2 separate regions of the Homo sapiens genome follow, and region 1 is linked to region 2. Evidence: promoter capture Hi-C in human tissues and cell types (Jung and others, 2019). All regions are on one chromosome and are shown on one strand. Each heading gives the region's core, a stretch centred on a gene start or on the middle of the fragment in contact. The rest is flanking DNA. Distances are from core to core; before and after follow the strand shown. Region 1 has its middle 83 kb from the start of GFRAL. Region 2 holds the start of LRRC1 (leucine rich repeat containing 1).

Region 1 (5,844 bases), core at 2,732-5,231, 1.6 Mb before region 2:
TGTAAAATAGCTTGATCTAGCCTTTCCATACCATGTATGCATATCAGGACATTATACATCATAAATATATACAATTTTTACAGAGGAAAAGCAAGAATTAGGGGGTGGACTGAGTCAAACACTGGACTCATGAATGAGAAGGGATTATAGGAAGCATAGTAAGTGATATGGTTTGGCTGTGTCCCCACCTAAATCTCATCTTGAATTGTAACCCCCATAATTCTCACATGCTGTAGGAGGGACCCAGTGAGAGGCAACTGAATCATGGGAGTGGGTCTTTCTCATGCTGTTCTCATGATAGTGAATGAGTCTCATGAGATCTGATGGTTTTATAATGGGGAGTTCCTCTACACAATCTCTCTTGCCTGCCACCATGTAAGATGTGACTGCTCCTCATTTCCCTTCCACCATGATTGAACCGTGGAACTGTGAGTCAATTAAACCTCTTTCCTTTATAAATTACCCAGTCTCAGGTATGTCTTTATTAGCAGAATGAGAACAGACTAATACAGTAAATGAAGTAGATAATAAGGAAAAATAATAGCTAACCAAGTTTAATGACATTCTCCTCAATGATTTGGGGTATTTTGAAGCATCAATAAGAAGACACATTTTGGAAGCAGAAAAGGGAATCAAGAAGAATATAAAACCCACCTCAAGGTCCTGACAAACATGAGCTGTGGGAGGAAACTGCCAAAAATTAATGGGACTATGGGGTGGAGTGTCCAGGCACCAGCCATACTGCAGTTGGCCCAGCGCTATGGTTCTTAAACATTAGTCCTCATCAAAATCACCCAGGGGGCTTGTTAAAGACAGCTTTCTGGGTTCCACTTCCAGAGTTTCTAATTTAACTGGTCTGGTGGGGTGAGAATTTGCATTTTTAACATCTTCCACATGATACTGACACTGCTGATCTGGAGGCCAAGCTTTGAGTAGCATTGATTTAGCAGCTTTCAACTCTGTCTGCCCATTATAATCACCTGAGAAACTTTTAGAGTCATTGATACCCATGCCTCTTCCTAGAAGTTCTGATTTAATTGATGTGTCATGGTCTTAAAGCATCATCGATTTTTTATCTGAGGATTGACATCTCTTTATTCCCTTCAACTTCCCATCTCTAGTAACCACCATTTTAATCTAAGTTTGATTTTTTTTTTTTTACACTCCACATGTAGGATTGTGCAGAATTTGTCTTTCTGTGCCTGGCTTATATCACTACTTTTATTATCCTTGGTGGCCTTAATATTTCCACACATACTGTGACCTCTTAGCTCTTGTCCACTTCATTTACGTGTAATATTTTCTCTTGATGCCCCGTCCAACTCAGGCGACCATTCTAACACTTCTAGTGACTATAACTTCTGAAATTGATTTTACCCCCATACCCCATTTTTTCCAGCTTTCTCAAACTGTTAGCAGTGGAAGAGATTCGAGTTACCACGAGTTATTGGCGGTGAATCCATACCAATTCCACAGCAACTTCAGTCCTTGTCTCCTCAGAAGAAAGAATTCAACTGAGGGGCATACAGCAGAAAAAGAGACCACGGCAAGTTTCAGAGCATGAGTGGAAATTTAGAAAGGTTTTAGAACAGGAAAGAAAGGAAAATTCTCTTGAAAGAGACCCAATCAGGCACCTAAAGTTGGAAGAAAGAAAAGAGAGCAAAAGAAGACAGCAAAAAAGGGCCTTTAACCTTGATCATGAGACTTACAGGCTCACCCCTTTCCCATGATTCTTTCCATAGGGTGGGCTTTCTGCATGCCCAGTGCTTTCCTTATCCTTTGGGACTGAGCAGGCGCTTGTGTTTAGGAAGTTATATGCAGGCCCATCTGAAGCTTTCTTCCCTCTTCCAGTGGAGTGTGCTCCTGAAAGAATATACTGCACCATTTTTATCTCTTGATGCACATGCCCAGGGAGTGTGCTTCTCCTTAGGGCTTGCGTTCAATTAACATTCTGATGTTAACAGGTGTGGACCATCAGGAAATGGCCTCTCCCTGGTGCTGCCAAATTATCATTTTAGAGAGGCGGAGATTTTTAGTGGGTGGCGGTAGAGCCCTCTCCTGTCCTGCTCATGCCTAATAACTACCTGTACCAAATCCAGCATTTTTCTTTCAACAACTCTTGATTTCCAGTAAGATCACTATGCCTTGCCACCTCAACTATCTTTAACTGCCCATGACCCGTTTGCTGTATTCCCATCATCCACCAGAAGGGCTCAACCACGCGTTCATAGGGAACTTCCGCTGCTGCAGCTTCTTCTCTCCATCGAACTTACTTCAGAAAACTCCAGCTGTGGTAAAATCTAGCTCTCTGTATCTAATGGAGAAAAATCGCTCAACTATACTGACATATTTTGTGTTTTTGACCAAGAATCTCAAAAAGTCAGGTGATTTGAGAAATTGTAATCATTACCTAGTAGAAAATTCACATATACCTCTTACTAATGGCTTTACACATATTAACAAAGTTATTCCTTTCAAACCCTGTAAGGTAAGTGCAATTAATTTCTTTGTTAGGGAAATTAACAGGACATATCGCTGTTAGTTGAGAAGACTGAGGTTCAGAGAATTTAGGTAAGTTGACTCAAATTATAAAACAAGTGAGTCAGTGAGGATTTGAATGCAGGCAGGCTTAGCAATATTGCTTCTCCTATACTCCCTACTAAATTTATCTATTCCCCAAGATAACCATTTCACATTCTCTCTCTTCTCACATCTCTAACATCTTCCTCTCAATTCTGTTGATGACCTCATACTTTACAGAAACTCCACATAAACACCCATTGTAATGCTCCTCTTGAGTGCAAAACTTCTCACAAGTGTTGTAAGTATTCATTGCCTTCATTTCCTCATTCCTCAATCTCTCTTCAATCTACTGCAACTGGGCCTCTGTCTCCACCACATCTATAAGATCTGTTTAAGATCTCAGTGACTTTCCTTCTACCAAAGCCAAAATTAAATTCTAGACCTTATTTTATTCAGTCTCTTGGCAATATCCGACATTGTTGAACATGCTCTCCATCTTGAAAATCTCTACACTTTTGGCTTATTTCTGCTAGCTTTCATTTCTCATTAGCCACCCATTTATAGTAGCCTTGCTTTCTCACTTTCTCACCTTCTTCTTCCAGACCACTAAGTGTTGTAATCATCCAAGTCATTTTTTGGTCATTTTCCATCTTTTCTCACATTTTTTTGTTATGTGGTTTCTTCTATTGTCGTGATTTTAAATAACATTCATACATTTGAGGTTGACTTTATTATGGGTCTCTACTTTCATATAAAAGCTGCCAATTAAAAATATTTGAACAATTACGTCTACCTTAAAATACAGCTGGATACAAACAAAAACAAAAAGATCAAACACATATTTTCCTTTTCAGCTAATCACACTCTACTCCAGGCCAAAAAAAAAAAAAAAAAAAAATGCCTGGCTCGGTGGCTCACACCTGTAATCCCAGCACTTTGGGAGGCCAAGGCGGGCAGATCATGAGGTCAGGAGATAGAGACCATACTGGCTGACACAGTGAAACCCCATCTCTACAAAAATACAAAAAAAAATTAGCTAGGCGTGGTGGGGGCACCTGTATTCCCAGCTACTTGGGAAGCTGAGGCAGGAGAATGGCATGAACCCAGGAGATGGAGCTTGCAGTGAGCCGATATCACACCACTGCACTCCAGCCTGAGCGACAGAGCAACACTCCATCTCAAAAAAAACAAAAAGAAAAAAAAAAAAGAAAAAAAAATCTTGTGTAACCACACTGAATTCTAGGTTTTCCCTATTTCCTGTATCTGTTACATCAATAAGCGTCACTAGCTTTATTTCCATCAAAATGTATTTGTGAAAGATAATTGGGTATTAAATGACTAGAAGAGTTGAGCTAAGCTGGGCACGGTGGCTCCCGCCTGTAATCCCAGCACTTTGGGAGGCTTAGACGGGTGGATCACCTGAGGTCAGAAGTTCAAGACCAGCCTGACCAACATGGTGAAGCCTCATCTCTACTAAAAATACAAAAATTAGCCCTACAGGGTGGCGGGTACCTGTAATCCCAACTACTCAGGAGGCTGAGGCAGGAGAATTGCTAGAACCCAGGAGGCAGAGGCTGCAGTGAGCTGAGATGGAGCCACTGTACTCCAGACTGGGGGACAGAGCGAGACTCCATATCAAAAAATAAAAACAAAAAAGTTAAGCTAAACTTGTTAGCTATTTTCAGAGCATTCTATTTATTGCCTGTTGCTAACTTTCCTGAGCTTGTTCCCCTCCTGTTATGAAAAAAGGAAAACAAGATGAGAGAAAAGGAAGAAGAAAAACAGAAAAAGATTAATACTATGATGAAAGAAATTTGCAGTATTTCTAAGATGATAAAGTAAATGAATAATTATATAGAACAACACTTTGTTTCCTTTATTACCTAGTTGCATGGTTAAAATATGAACAAATACAATAGAATATATTACTTCATATGAAAAATACTTCATTATATAATAAACAATACACCTGTATTTCAATATTGCTGCCAATAAGGACTCCCAGTTCTATTCACTACTACCCTATACCCCATCCCCAGTTCCATCAAGTTTCAATGCAATCAAGAAAATGCTAGATAAATATTTATCTTCCAATCTATCATTTCATTCTGTCAAACTCCTCAAAACTTATCTCCATGTTCTTTCTCTATTATTGAGATGTTAGGGGCAGTAACACATTTTGTTTTCCTTTCCTACTACATATCTTTAAATTCTAATATTTTATTCCTATCACTTTTTATTTGCAGAGACTAATTTTGACTCATCCAAGAGAATAGGGTATCTGTGAAGACTGCCTAACAAACAACTATTTTAAGTTTCCACTTTTTAGAAGTTATTTCCCATTGTTTCCTTTTATATATTGTATCTCAGCTTTGGCTTCTAAACACTCCCCTCCTGTTCTTAATGGTACACTGATTTGGCATATCTTTTTTACTACCTGGGAAACATTTATTCCTTTACCCTTTCTGAGCTACTAAGGCAAAGGTGTCTAGCCAATAGATAAGTAGTCTAAACAGTACTTTTTTGTGGAATGGAATTCTCAGAAAAGAGGAGTGTATTAGTCCATTTTCTTGCTGCTATGAGGATACCTGAGACTGGATAATTTATAAAGAAAAAGAGGTTTAATGGACTCACAATTCCACGTGGCTGGGGAGGCATCACAATCATGGTTGAAGGTGAAGGAGGAGCAAAGGCATGTCTTACATGGCAGCAGGTAATAGAGTGTGTGCAGGGGAACTCCTCTTTATAAAACCATCAAATCTTGTGAGACTTATTCACTATCATGGAAAAAACCCACCCCCATGATTTAATTACCTCCCACTAGGTGCCTCCCATGACACATGAGGATTATAGGAGCTACAATTCAAGATGAGATTTGGGTGGGGACACAGCCAAATCATATCAAGGAGAAACCCAGGCAGTGTTGATTCCTCCACTACTCACTGTATTCTGCAACTCAACTGTCAGCTGCATAGCCTTTAATCTCTTTCCTTCTCAATGAATGAATGATCTCCAAGTATCTGGAAAAGTTTTCATTAAAAGGTGATATTTATTTTGCTAATACAAAACAGTCAACATTTTTTTCATAATAGACAAATTTTGTTCATTAGTAAATAGAAAATCCTAAATTGGTAGAACTTGAGCACTTCCATAGATGTCAACATAGAGAAACACTGTCTTAGGTGTGGACTATTTAGTTCCAAATAACAAAATGAAAAGTATAACTTAAACCCAAGTAATCTGATTTACTTGTTTGAAGCCATTTTACTTTGTATTTAATTGGTGAAGTTAATCTAGACTTTTGTAGCATAAACTATTGGC
Region 2 (5,861 bases), core at 2,543-5,042:
CAGAGGGAGGAAGATTTTTATAAGATTCGGCAACATTCATTCAACAGATAAATAACTGTTTATTGAGCAAGACCTATTGGGTGTCACAAGGATGAGATTCTGTGCTGAACAAAGGTAAGGCCGGGCATGGTGGCTCACGCCTGTAATCCCAGCACTTTGGGAGGCTAAGGCGGGTGGGTCATGAGGTCAGGAGATCGAGACCATCCTGGCTAACATGGTGAAACCCTGTCTCTACTAAAAATACTAAAAAATTAGCTGGGTGTGGTGGTGGGCACCTGTAGTCCCAGCTACTCGAGAGGCTGAGGCAGGAGAATGGTGTGAACCCAGAAGGAGGAGCTTGCAGTGAGTGGAGATCGTGCCACTGCACTCCAGCCTAGGCAACAAGAGTGAGACTCCGTCTCAAAAAATAAATAAATAAAAAATAAACAAAGGTAAGCAAAAACACACAGACATCTCAAGAAGGTTACAGTGAGACTGCCTTTGTTAGCACAGAGCCAAAAAGGATCAAACTGCGGGTATGGGGGAGAAGTAGGTGGATGCAAAAAGGATGGTGAGGCTATCACCCAACTGCAACCAAACTGAAGATGAGGGATCTGATGCAAAAGGTTAAAAGATTAGGGAAGTAACCATCAAGTCCATAGCTTAGGAGTAGTTTAACCGTGGTGTCCTTTCCATCCCACACTAACTACATCTGGATTAAAATCATCTGCTTCCTCCCAAAGATGTGAATCATGCCTCCTTTAATCTCTATATTCCCAATAACTTGTAAATAATGGAGTCTCAATAAATGCTTGGCTAAGGCTAAGTTATAATGACATGAGTAAAACAGGAGAGACTAAATAAAGATTTGATGGGTGTGAGAAGCAGGATAGAAGATTCCTGCTAGGTGTCCAAAGCAATTGTATTTGGCTGACATCTGAATGAACAAGACCCACCAGCAACTGCATCTAACTCACTGGACAGCCCTGAGAAAGTCACCTCAATTCTGAATCTGAATTTGTAAAAGGAAGATATTGGCGCAAACCAGAAGTTGCAGGCCTTTCAGTGGAAAGAAGGTGGCTGTTATTACACTGAAACCTGGAGAGTGCATCTTTGCTGCCCTGGTAAGGGGTACCGGCTTCCCCTTAAGCTGTGCTTCCAAACAAATTATAGAGAGGAGAACATACAGCTGGTATGGCCACCAAAATAAGGACCTTTGAGGCTTGTGAACAAAACAGATGCGCTTGTGTGTGGCAGGTAAGGAGACAGGGGTTTGGAGCAGGAGCAGCAGAGACCAGTGGTAATAAGTTATACAGATCTCAGAGGTGAGACAACAGATAGCCCAAGGAAAGAATGGAAGGGATGGAACAGATATCTATGTTTGCAAGGTGGTTCTCATGTCTGGCATGTACACACCCAGGCACCAAGACACACAATAAGTCAGGGAGAAGTAGATTTTACACAACCTAAAAACTTTAATACTAATTTAACAGCTGTTAGAGCAATAATAATCCATTAGCAAGATCACCTGTAACCTTTGAAAAGCTTGTTTATTTACCATATTTACAGAGTGCCATCAGACTATATTTTGAGATTCTGACAAGTTTCCATTTAGGATCACAGAAAGACCTGACATTTCGGCTTGGCATGGGAAATTATGTAATTTCCCATGCCAAGCTGAATTCCCCAACATTACAGGAAAACCCACAAACCCTGCAGAAGGGAGTGAAAAGCCAATCCAGTCAAAGGAAATCTTCCAGTTCTACAAAAGAAAACAAAAAAACAAATACCACAAAGAGCAATGAATCATTTCTAGTGAATAACTTTTCACTCCATCTTCAATAATGTCATCCTGAAGCCCCTGAAAACTATTAAATTACATATTCTATATTCCTGGTGATATCACTGCCTAAAATTACACAACTTAAAGCAGTGAGGGAGCTGACGACTGGTAAGAAATCTTCAAGGACGTAAAAGGCCAGAAAAAAATCATGTGTTTGAAAATGCCTGCGAAATAATAAACGCCTGAGGGAACTTGATGGCTTTGCTGCTTCTAAGCTAAATAAAGCCTGGGGGGCTTTGCAAAGGTCCTAGTGAGGATAATCTCCATGATTACACAGAGCAAACATCCAATCAATTCCACATGAACCCAGGAAAGTTAATCCAAGAAGAACACCACCACTTAAAATATTGAGAAAAACACACAGTTCTTATTGTTTAAATGCTCCATCAGCGCTGGAGAACGTATCAGGTCATTCTAACAAGTCAGAACACTTGACTAGTGTTTCTGTGACAATGATTTGGCTTGTGTTAACTAAAGGGCAACAAGAAGTTTGCGTTCCAAAGCTCAGGCCTAAAACAGGTCCAATCCCCGACTGCCAGCAGTCTCCCTACTTCCTGCACACCTTTGGATTATTGCACACCGACTTCCTGCACACACCTGGGTTTGAGACACCTTCCCCGAGGGGTTACTCTAGCTAAGTTCCCGAGGCAAGCTTGAAAGAAGTTCGCTGTACCCCTACTCTCGGTCAAAGCACCATCAGCACATGTCGCTTGACAAGTTCGGCGGCAATGGAGTGATCAATTTACATAAACAACTCTGAAGAGATAACGCATCACTGCAAGGAGAGAAAGTCAGCAGGACGACTGTGCCCGCTCCGGGAAAGGCGGCTGCAAGGCTGGCCCGCGGGCAGAGCCTCCGCTGACGTTCACCGCAGCTCCCACCACGCAACAGGTCCACGTAGGCAAGGCCCGGGCGGCCGGCATCTGGGCACCTGCCCCTAGCGCTCCAGGCCCAGCTCTCCCCTGCGCCCATCTCGCGTCCACCCCCGCAGCCACCGCAGGCCAGCCGGCCAAGCCCACCCGCGATAAAGCACGGAGCACATTCCTCATTCCTCCCAAGATGCCGAGATAGTGCGGCCCGCTTGAGCGCTGCCCAGGTCACAAGGTCCTCCGGGACATGCCTTGACTAAAGGAGAGGCGCGCCCGGCCCTTGGTGGGGGAACGACCCCGGGGAGTGGAGGGGGGGAGGATGCAGTGCTCTGTAGCTTCCAGATGGAAACAGCCCGAATCACCCGGCTTCTCACCTGACCGGGCACAAGTGCCAGGTGTCAGTACCTAGCATGGATCTAAGTTACTTAACAGTCCAGAACGCTTCTCCAATAGCACGAGCCCCAGTGACTACGCGCAAAATATCCGGTCACTTTGAATAAAATGAAAAGGAACTTTTACTGGGAAAGGATGGAAGTAAAGAGACAGGGGGAGAAAGAAGCAGGTGAATGCATAAAAGAGGGAAGGTTCCTTCACGCCGGACCCGGAGATGGAAGAGGGGACGAGAGAGGATGGGAGCGGAAGGGACAGCAGACGAGCGGGCAGAGCGCTCAGGTGAGGCCGGACCCTTACCTCGGGCAGCTCGCGGAGCTGGTTGGCGTCCAGCAGCAGCTCCTCCAGGCTCCGGGCATAGCGGTAGATCTCCTCGGGGACGTAGACCAGCGAGCAGTGGCGCTTGTCGATGCTCTCCACATGACGGTTGCACCGCCACAGGGGGATGCAGTGGAACATCGCCGCCCCCGCCGCCGCCTAGCCGGGTCCCGAGCGGCGGAGACCCGGGCTCCGAGCCCGCTCTGGCCGGCGGCTCCGCTCAGTCCGCTGCCCTCTCCGCGCTCGTTGTTGGCTCTTGGGTTAGCTCGCTTCTCGCGCCGGGCTTCGCGGTCGGAAGTGCTTCAAGGAACCTGGAGCGGGAGCCCCTGCCCCGTCCCTGTACCCCCGCCCGCCAGCCGGTGCCTCCACTCCCACCCGCCAGTCGCCGTCGCCGCCCCCGCCGCCGCGCGGAGCTTCCTACTCGCAGCCGCCGCGCGGACTGAGCATGCGCGCCAGTGGGTGCGCGCCGAGGGCGTTTCCCGGCCCGAGGGATGCTCCGCTCCGGGTTTTCCCGGCGACCTGCATCCAGAGAGGGTCGACTGACCTGCGGGCCGGCTGCTGGCGGTCTGCTTACTCCGGCAAAGACGGGGGCGCATCGGGCCGTTTGAGGAAGGCAGACTGTGAAAGGACTTGGGACAAAGATGAGGCGGAGTAGAGGCGGCCTGAGCAGAGCAGAACAACTTTGATATTTAGTTTTATTTAACTCGCACTCCTCTCCTTGCTCCCCTTCCCCAAAACAACTTTCTCTTCCGGGGTCACACAGGACCGCCCCAAAGCGTACCTTGCGCGCCGGGGGCGCCAGGCGCTACTGGATTCGGTGTAGTTTTGAGGTGTTTGCACCACCCTCGCTGCTGCTTTCGTGGCTGCCCGTGTGCCCGCTGCTCACGGCTGCCCCAGAAGTGTGAGCTGGCCGCGCCCGGCCCTCTGGTCCTCGGGCACCGCCTGCAGGCTTTGTAACTTGGGAGCACATCTCTGGTGATCATGGTTTATGCAGTGAGTGATAGTAAATCCTCCTCCCTGTACCAGCAAAGGCATAGGAGTCTGAGAGTCTGCGAGATTCTCATAGATGTGGTTGCACCTGGCAAGGAGCCCAGCTGCAGAAATAAGCAGGCAAACGCGAGTTTCTGAGCCAGTTCCAGCCCGGCCCAGATGTTGGCCCCTGACAACTAGCTGTGGCTGGTGCGGAGGGAGGAGCGAGGGAAGAGGGGCAGATCGAGGCTGCCAGGTGAGCATCCTCCATACAGCTCCTGCTTTTCTGCTACAACCCCAGTCCCGTCCAGCCCGGATGACCGGGGAGGCTCACTATTGGGTTATAACAACCATTCCCTCGCCCCGACTCATTCCTGCGGACCACGGCCGGAATCCTGAACTGCCCCTCTTTGCCTGTAACTGTTTGCAACACAGTCCCCATCTCCGAATAACCAAATTTTCTCCTTTAATGAAGGGTTGCTAAAGTCAAGGTCAATCACAATGATGAATCATTTCCTTGGGGGCTTCTCTGATTCCCCACCCGGCCGCCCCTTCGTTCCACACTTTCCCTTTCAAGCATACTCAAACTCCAGGTTTCCACCTGCGGCCGCTGCCACGCTGGCTCTCCCACACTCACTCCCGCCCTCCAGCTGCTATAGCTAAAATCTGGAGCCACGGAGTTCACTTTTCTATAGAAGACAAAGCTGAGCATGCTCAGTGGCCAAGGCAAAGTTTGGTCGGAAACTAGTTTTTGCATTAGACTCTCCATGGGCTCCATAGACTCTCCTGTACCTTACGACTAGGCACAGGAGCGTTTCCCCGGTGAAATGGAGAAGAGGACACTTGGTCTTTTCAACTTTACTAGGAGGGCTCCTTTCTTCCCAGTCCGTAAGGAGGGGTCTGACTTTCATTTCCACCCCAGCATTATCACCTTAACTCTCATTCCAGTCAATCCCGAAACTCCGTTGCCCTACCCACTTCACCCTTCTTTTGTTTGTCCTGATTTGATTCCTGCGTTCTCACAGAGGGCTACCTGGACTTTGAACCTCCACCCCCCTTTCTACATTCTTGCATTCCAGAAACATATGAAGCTCATTTCTGCCACCCTTCCTAGAAAACTGGTTCCTGACAGAGACATGTGGAAAGGTAAGTAAGTCCCTGTCTTCAAGTTTTCCAACTGCTTTTTAAAAAAAAAATTAAAGAAGGCTAGTTCCCTCCATTTAAAATAATGTGATTTCCAGAGGTTATCACACTAGATTATTTTAACGAACACCAAATGTATTTTAAAGACGTGTCCAGTCTTTTAAAAATTCAGACCTCAATAAGCATTCCTTGTGTGCCTCTCCATGATGCTTCAGCTTCTCTGTGTTATTATTTTTGTATCACCTTAATCCGAAAGAGATTATGACCTCTTAAACAACAGATACTGTCTCACTTGCTTTGTAGATCTGGGAAGCTGCCACAGTGCCATATGCACAGTCAATGATCAACAG

The links. Contacts are between HindIII fragments. The study calls those that stand out against the background at their distance.
Region 1: a contact is called between a fragment that was not itself captured here and the fragment with the promoter of LRRC1 in region 2, in 1 of the 25 tissues and cell types used here (dorsolateral prefrontal cortex).

The regions. Positions count from the first base shown.
Region 1 is chr6:55,407,785-55,413,628 of GRCh38, reverse strand. No RefSeq gene overlaps it. Among named protein-coding and RNA genes, the nearest start is that of GFRAL, 83 kb to the right of the region's middle. The HindIII fragment of the contact is 5,201 bases long and covers 1,381-5,844 here.
Region 2 is chr6:53,792,936-53,798,796 of GRCh38, reverse strand. LRRC1 (leucine rich repeat containing 1) reads right to left here and starts at 3,792. Exons shown (of 14, transcript NM_018214.5): 1 at 3,382-3,792. The coding sequence starts at 3,540. LOC124901333 (a long non-coding RNA gene) reads left to right here and starts at 5,122. Exons shown (of 5, transcript XR_007059619.1): 1 at 5,122-5,256; 2 at 5,448-5,514. RefSeq lists an enhancer at 3,008-3,720 and silencers at 3,687-3,926, 4,972-5,101. The HindIII fragment of the contact is 7,170 bases long and covers 2,000-5,861 here.